Regions from separate parts of the Homo sapiens genome. Here regions 1 and 3 are each linked to region 2. Evidence: promoter capture Hi-C in human tissues and cell types (Jung and others, 2019). All regions are on one chromosome and are shown on one strand. The core of a region is centred on a gene start or on the middle of the fragment in contact, and the rest is flanking DNA. Distances in the headings are between cores, read along the strand shown.

Region 1 (2,700 bases), core at 147-2,646, 130 kb after region 2:
GGTGGAAAGCCCACAGACTGGTTGACCCCCATTTCATCACCGGGTGAATCAAATGACTTGCCGGAGCTGAACTTGCTGGCTGGATGGGGGAACACAGAACAGCAGCCGCTTGCTGGTTTCCTCTCGGCTTCCTGTTGCTGAAATGTGTTATCTGTTACCCTGTCCACCCCTCCTTAGCACCTCATCCTCCCTGCCGTCGCTCATTAAATCTTGCACCTACTACTTTGCTACATTGCCTTTGCCAAGGTTGGGGGTTGTTTTTTATTTTGCTAGGGTGAGGAGATGGCTGGAAGACGAAAGAGAGCCATCCATACTCCTTACAGCCCATTAACGTATGTTTATCCAGCAGCTACTGCTGCAGAGACTGTCACACAGACCTTGCTCTCCTGAGGCTAATAGTAACCACTAAGATCCATTATTTACGGTTAGCACTGTACTGACCTCTTTATAGACACTATACACATTGCATCATTTCATTGTCTCAACCACTCTCTGAGGTAGGTACTTTTTTTTTTGAGACGGAGTCTCGCTCTGTTGCTAGGCTGGAGTGCAGTGGCATGATCTTGCTCGCTGCAACCTCCGACTCCCTGGTTCAAGCGATTCTCCTGCCTCAGCCTCCTGAGTAGCTGGGATTACAGGCACGTGCCACCATGCCCAGCTAATTTTTTGTTTAATTTTTAGTAGAGACGGGGTTTCGCCATGTTGGCCAGGATGGTCTTGATCTCCTGACCTCGTGATCTACCCACTTTGGCCTCCCAAAGTGCTGGGATTACAGGCGTGAGCCACCGCGCCTGGCCTGAGGTAGGTACTATTAAGACCTTGTTTTGGCCAGGCACGGTGGCTCACGCCTGTAATCCAAGCACTTTGGGAGGTCGAGGCGGGCAGATCACCTGAGGTCAGGAGTTCAAGACCAGCCTGGCCAACATGGCGAAACCCCGTCTCTACTAAAAATACAAAAATTAGCCGGGTGCAGTGGCAGGCACCTATAGTCCCAGCTACTCAGGAAGCTGAGGCAAGAGAATCGCTTGAACCTGGGAGGCAGAGGTTGCAGTGAGCCGAGATTGCACCACTGCACTCCAGCCTGGGTGACAGAGTGAGACCCTGTCTCAAAAAACAAACAAACAAACAAAAGACCCTGTTTTACAGATGAGGAAACTAAGGCATAAAGAGGTTGAATAACCTTCCCAAGTTACCCAGTGGCAAACCCATCTCTGCCTAATCCGGAAGCTAAGTTCTTAACCATTACTGATCCTGCTCAGGGGGAGATTCAGTTATACAGATGCAAAGTTACTGAACTAAGCTTTTTCTTAAAACCGTTTGATTTTTTTGAGAGACAGGGTCTTGCTATGTTGTCCAGGCTGGTCTCAAACTCCTGGGCTCAAACAATACACCTGCCTAGGCCTCCCAAGTAGCTGGGATTACAGGTAAGAGCCACCACACCCAGCTTTTAAACTACTGAATATGGGGTAGCACTTATGCTGGGCCTTTAAAGATGAGGAAGTTGAGAGGCAGGGGAGGAGGAAGAAAGCACTTATAGAAAAAATCCTAAGAGGAAAAAAAGCAGAGGTAGGGAAAAGTATGATGTGGGCAGTAGATCAAACAGATGCTTTCAGCATGACAGGCATGCACACTCCTGACTAGATAACATTCCTACGGCTCAGCTGCTTCCTAAACTGGTGCCAGTGCTCCCCTAACCCTCTTCAGTTTCATCATCTCCAACACCACCATCATCATCATACTTACTCTGTGCCAGGAACTATGTTTAGTGCTTTTCACATATTATTTTATTTAATTCTTTCAACAGTCCTCTGAGATACGTATTATTATCTCATTTTACAGATGAGGAAACAGATGCTTGACAAAGGCAATTTACCCAATAACATATGGCGAGCAGAGCCAGAATTCGATCATGGACAATGTGGTTGTAACATGAGAATGTCAAACTTCCCAGTGTCCCTTGCCTTGTGATTTGGGTGGGGCTGACCCCTCCTTAACCTCCGGAGTTGAGCCTTAATTAACCGGAGCCAATCAGTCCTTCTTATTCTCCGGTCAGTATTTGGATGAAAAGTGCGCGTATGGCATTAGGTTGGTCCAATAGGCGTAAAACCCGGGACTTTGGTATGACGGTTGAGGGGAGAAAAGTTATTTCCTGTGTTGGACTAGTGTGATGTGCAGATGTCACCTGTCAAGTGGCCTTGAACCACAGCAGCCACTTTTGCCACCTTGAGGATGAAGATACCCATGGTGGATGGGAAAACCAGAAGAATCACAGAGAAATAGAGGCCCATTTGTGAAGACATTAAGAATCCACAGATTAGACCATACCTGAAACCTGACCCACTCCTAGACTTTCTAGTTACATGAGTCAGTAAGTTCCCTTTCTTGGTTAAACCAACTGAAGTTAGATTTCTTTTGGTTGTAACCAAAAGCATCTAAATGGATACACACTGAGTCTGGGGTCCACATGTTAATGATTAAATTATTCTGCTTCCTTTAAGATGCTCTGGGAGGGATTCAGGAGTTCCAGTCAAAGCATGTCTGGGTAAGAAGAGACCTAAGGGAGCATTTCCGTCAATCCCCTCCACAATCGTTTTCCCCTTCTCCGCGTACATACACGTGCTTTACCAGGGAAGACACCAAGGTCCGGAGAGATTAAGTGAGCTGCTCAGAGTCACAAGCAGAACGATGATAACAACACAC
Region 2 (2,700 bases), core at 84-2,583:
GTCACTGCACTCCAGCCTGGGCGACAGAGCAAGACTCCATCTCAAAAAATAATAATAATAAATAATAATAATAAAATGATCAAATTTCTTATCTATAAAACCAGGATAATGACAAAATCTACTTTACTGAATTTTGGTGAGTACCTGCCATTGATAAAGTGTATAAAGTCTCGGCAAAATGCCTGACACATAGAAAGCACTCAATAAAGGTTAGGTATTGTTGTTATTATTTATACACCTCTTTTCTTCCCTATAAGACTGTGAGCAACCTGAGAGCAAGAATCTTGCCCCTAGTGTCTGTTTTGAGCCTGTTTTCCGTATGTAAAATGGGTATCATTACACTATCTACCATATAGAATTGTACCAAACAAGGTAACATACCTAAAACACTTAGCACCAGCATAAAATGCTCAATAAACATGAATGATTATTATGTCGCACTTTTGTTTCTTTACAGTGACTGAAGAGCATCTTGCCTAGGTGACAGACCTGAATGTGATTTCCAGCTCCTTCTAGTTAGGCGGGCCTAGGTTAGTTACTGAACCTCAGTTTCCTCATTCCCAGCAAGAATGACGACACATATAACGCATATTCAGTATCTAATGCAGTATCCGGCACCCAGTGACTGCTCAGTACATAGGAGGCCAGCTCCCCTTCCCATAGCTTCTACTTTTCCCCTCAAAGTTACCGGTTCTGGGCAGGTAGTTGGCCTGCAACTTGGCAAATTGGGTGGAAACAGACCCCGGGGTGAGAATTTCCCCAATTTGCATTCGCATCCATCTCCCAATGCTCCAGCCTCTACTAGGACGTCTCGCAGGGACTGTGGCCTCCTAGGGAGCCTGGTCAGTTCAACTGCTCCGAGCGAACTTTCCCTCCGCCTCTCCCACACCTGAACCTTCGCCGCCCCTCCCTGCGCACCGCTCCTCCAGACCCCCCAACAGCACGCTCTTTCCTTCCGTCCCTCCCATCCTCCCCAAGCCCCGTTTTTCAACCTTCTTCAGACCACAATCCCTCTCGCCTGTGAATCCCCAACGCTGTTCCCTTCTCTGTCCCCGACTTCGCTTTCATCATCTCCAGGTGTCCCCCAAACTCCTCCCGTCTTACGCCTCCAGGCCCTACCTGGTTCCCAACGCCCTCTCATCCCCCAGCGTCCCACCTGCACTTTCCGCCTCTTCAGCGCCGCCGCGTCCAGCCACACGCCGCAGGCCTCCTCCTCGGGGCCTGTCCGCCTCATGGCCGCTGAGGAGACGAAGCCGGCAGGACGCCGGCGCAGGCTCCCGGCGCCTCAGGGAACGCCAGAACCGCGGCCGCCGACGTTCGGATCTCGCGCCAACGCTGGGGGCGGGGCTACGTCGCGACCGCCCCGGGCGCCAGCCCCGCCCCGGCAAGGCCCTGGCCCCCTTCGCTGTGCCCCGCCCACGCACTAACTTTCGCGGCCGGTCCCTTGAGTGCGTGCGGCATATTTCCCTGCGCGGAGGAGTGCGTGTTCTTTCTGATCCGCTCTTTCAAGAGCGGATTCGGAAGCTGCTGTGTGAACGGTTCTCGACAGCCTCAGAAATGTACATTTTCTTTTTGCTGTATTGAAAATTTCTTACAGTATTTCCCGGGCTTAGGAATTTGTTCGTGTCATCGCTGAATCTTCGCGATCACCCCCAGAAGGAAGTGGCTGAGCCGAGATCAGGCCCGTCGACTCCAGACCAGGGGTCCTCGACCTAAGTGGTTACCAGACACTCGAGTGTGCGAACAACTTTGGTAATTTTTTTTTTTTAATGTAAGCGTAACTACGAAGCCACATGGGAGAGGATTTTGAAGAGGTTAAAATTTGGGGTCAGGAACTAGATTTCAGTCCTGCTTTCACCGTTTACTGTGCCTTGGATTTTAAAGAGGATCAAATGAGGTTGTGAAAGTACTTTGTGAATTCAGAAAACCCCTTGGAAATGCAAAAATGTTGGCACCCCCACCCATCCTTCCGTCCCTAACCACAATCTCCATAGATGGAATATATGTACATTATACGTAATGTTTACATATTGTATATGTAAAAAAAATTTTTTTTTGAGACGGAGTCTCACTGTCGCCCAGGCTGGAGTGCAGTGGCGCTATCTCGGCTCACTGCAGCCCCGCCTCCTGGGTTCAAGCGGTTCTTCTGTCTCAGCCTCCCTAGTAGCTGGAAGTACAGGCGCACGCCACCACACCCAGCTAATTTTTGTATTTTTAGTAGAGACGGGGTTTCACCATTGGCCAGGCTGGTCTCGAACTCCTGACCTCGTGATACGCCTGCCTCAGCCTCCCAAAGTGCTGGGATTACAGGCATGAGCCACCGCGCCCGGCCAAAAATTTTGTAATTTTTTTTTTTTGGTGGAGGGAGGATAGAAGCTCAGCCACCTCTTGCCCAGTCTGCAGCAGGTCAGCCAGGAACCTCAACCATCTCTGCAGCCAGAGCCTGTCTTCATGGTGGACAGAGCCATCTCGCTTTGTCACCCAGGCTCGGGTACAGTGGCACAGTCTCAGCTCACTGCAGCCTCAACCTCTTGGGCTCAAGCGATCCTGCCACCTCAGCCTCCCAAGTAGCTGGGACTACAGGTGTGTGCCACCACGCCTGGCTAATTTTTGTATTTTTAGTAGAGATGGGTTTTCGCCATGTTGGCCAGACTGGTCTCAACTTCCTGCCCTCAGGTGATATGCCTGCCTCAGCCTCCC
Region 3 (2,700 bases), core at 170-2,669, 210 kb after region 2:
GAGCCAGCATCAGAATCAGGAAGTTATAAACCAGCATCATTACAGTTATGAGAACATACCGTAACACTATAGTACTGGCAGATGAAGAGACAATTACGGAACACCAGTGGGTGTCTGGACCCAGAGCTCTTAACCACTATATTTACTGCCTCCCTCTCTGCAAGTCACTTCATTTATTTTTATTCCTTATGAATGAAAGTTTCAAACACACAAAACTAGAGAGAACAGTATAATGGGCTCACGTAATCAAACCCAGCTTAACTCGTTAATCATTGCCCCAATATTCCCATACACTTCTTTTATCTTTTCTTTCTTTTTTTTTTGAGACGGAGTTTCGCTCTTGTTGCGCAAGCTGGGGTGCATTGGTGCGATCTTGGCTCACTGCAACCTCTGCCTCCCGGGTTCAAGCAATTCTCCTGCCTCAGCCTCCCGAGTAGCTGGGATTACAGGCGCATGCCACAATACCCGGCTAATTTTTGTATTTTTAGTAGAGACGGGGTTTCACCATGTTGGCCAGGCTGGTCTCGAACTCCTGACCTCAAGTGATCAGCCCACCTCAGCCTCCCAAGCTACTGGGATTACAGACGTGAGCTACCGTGCCTGGCCCACGCTTCTTTTGTCTAAATTTTTTTTTTTGAAACAAAGTCTCACTCTATTGTCCAGCCTGGAGTGCAGTGGCGTGATCTTGGCTCACTGCAACCTCCACCTCCCAGGTTCAAGCGATTCTTCTGCCTCAGCCTCCCGAGTAACTGGGATTACAGGCACTCGCCATCACGCCCAGCTAATTTTGTTTTTACTTTTAGTAGAGACAAGGTTTCACTATGTTGGCCAGGCTGGTCTCAAACTCTTGACCTCAGGTGATCCTCCCACTTTGGTTTCCCAAAGTGCTGGGATTACAGGCGTGAACCACTGCACCCAGCCTCTTTTCTTTTCTTATTTTTTCTTTTCTTTTCTTTTCTCAGAAGGAGTCTCACTCTGTTGTCCAGGCTGGCTGAAGTGGTGCAATCTTGGCTCACTGCAACCTCCACCTCCTGGGTTCAAGCAATTCTCTGCCTCAGCCTCCGTGCCCAGCCTTTTCTAAAATATTTTAAAGAAAATGTTAGACATTAAGTCATTTCACCCATAAATACTCCAATATGCATTTCTCATAGATAAGGATTTTTGTTACATAATCACCATGCCATTATGTTAACAAACAATAATTAAAGTTTTTTTTTTTCTGAGACAGGGTCTCACTCCGTTACTCAGGCTGAGACCTCTGTTGTTTTTGTCTCATGGATCTCTTTTAAACTGTAACAACTGTCATCCCTCTCATTCTTCTGTGCCATTGATTTATCAGAGAATTATTCTGGGTATTATGATTCTCATTTTTATATATCAGGCACTGAAGCTTAAGTGACTTGTAGAAAGTCACCCAGCTAAGCAACAGACCTGTCATTTAGAATTGCTCCCAAAGTCTGTGTCATGAGTGTAGGAAGCTGTAGTGCCCAAGAGGGTCCCAGCTGGGTAGAAGACAGGCAAGGCATCAGGGAGAATGGTCTAGGCCTGGCAAGGAAAAAGGGGAGGTAGAGGGTAATAGCAATTATAATGCTGTGTTTTATTGATTTCAGTGCTTGCAAGTGGCTGGGCATCTACAAAGAGTTTTGAGGCACTATTTTATTCAGTCCTCACAACAACTATAAATAGGTTATCCTTAAATTTTTTTAATCGACAAGTAAAAATTGCATATATTTATGGTGTACCACATGATGTTTTGATATATGTATATATTGTGGAATGGCTAAATCAAGCTATTTAACATATGCATGACCTCACATACTTATTGTTTCATGGTGGGAACACTTAAAATCTACTCTCTTAGCAATTTTCAAGTATACATGTCATACTTATTGTCCTCATTTCACAGATGAGGCACAGTTTAGGGTATGGAGTTGCCCCAAGACCCACAGCTCATGTAGGCAAAGCTGCAACAGGCCTGTTTAACCCTCAAAGTCTATGCTTTTTCTTTTTCTTTTTTTAGACAGAGTCTTGCTGTCTGTCACTCAGGCTGGAGTGCAGTGGCGCTATCTCAGCTCACTGCACCCTCCACCTCCTGGGTTCAAGCGATTCTCATGCCTCAGCCTCCCGAGTAGATGAGATTACAGGTGCCCACCACCACGCCTGGCTAATTTGTTGTATTTTTAGTAGAGATGGGTTTTCACCATGTTGGCCAGTCTCTAAATCCTGACCTCAGGTGATCTGCCTGCCCCAGCCTCCCAAAGTGCTGGGATTACAGGCATGAGCCATCGTTACCAGCCTATGTTTTTGTTTTTTTTTTAATTGTCTCTAGAAAGGGAACTTTTCAGAGATCTGAGATTTTTTTGATGCCTCTTGGTTCAGAGGAGAAAACCCTGGCCTAGGGCCCAGACACCTGGGTTCCATCTCCATCTCTGTTGGAGACCTGAAATGTGATGCCCTGCAAACCATACCCACCCTCAGTTTCTTCATCTGCCAAATGGAGCATCTACAGGAGATGATCCTGAATGGTCCTTCCACATCCCCAGTGGCCAAGTTCTCAGAGGAGTGCTCCGGTGATGACACAGGCCCAAGGGGTGGTGATGCTGGAGAGGAAACAACTGTCCATCTCCCCTTTCATGTCCACATAGTTCAGGCTTGTGGAAGTGCTTCCCTGGTACATCATGGAGCAGATCTTTTTCACAT

What was found. The method cuts DNA at HindIII sites, captures the fragments that hold promoters and counts their contacts. A contact is called where the count stands out against the background at its distance.
Region 1: a contact is called between a fragment that was not itself captured here and the fragment with the promoter of AUNIP in region 2, in 10 of the 25 tissues and cell types used here (H1 embryonic stem cells, IMR-90 fibroblasts, adrenal gland and 7 more).
Region 3: a fragment that was not itself captured here is called in contact with the fragment with the promoter of AUNIP in region 2 in 1 of the 25 tissues and cell types used here (small bowel).

What each region holds. Positions count from the first base shown.
Region 1 is chr1:25,990,785-25,993,484 of GRCh38, forward strand. It overlaps PAFAH2 (platelet activating factor acetylhydrolase 2), which reads right to left. Exons shown (of 11, transcript NM_000437.4): 2 at 1-79. The coding sequence starts at 32. Among named protein-coding and RNA genes, the nearest start is that of PAFAH2, 5.9 kb to the right of the region's middle. The HindIII fragment of the contact is 7,134 bases long and covers 1-2,700 here.
Region 2 is chr1:25,858,124-25,860,823 of GRCh38, forward strand. It overlaps AUNIP (aurora kinase A and ninein interacting protein), which reads right to left and starts at 1,334. Exons shown (of 3, transcript NM_024037.3): 1 at 1,157-1,334. The coding sequence starts at 1,234. RefSeq lists enhancers at 989-1,614, 1,512-1,741, 1,615-2,240 and silencers at 1,232-1,491, 2,092-2,151. The HindIII fragment of the contact is 14,334 bases long and covers 1-2,700 here.
Region 3 is chr1:26,073,011-26,075,710 of GRCh38, forward strand. No RefSeq gene overlaps it. Among named protein-coding and RNA genes, the nearest start is that of TRIM63, 6.7 kb to the left of the region's middle. The HindIII fragment of the contact is 3,802 bases long and covers 1-2,700 here.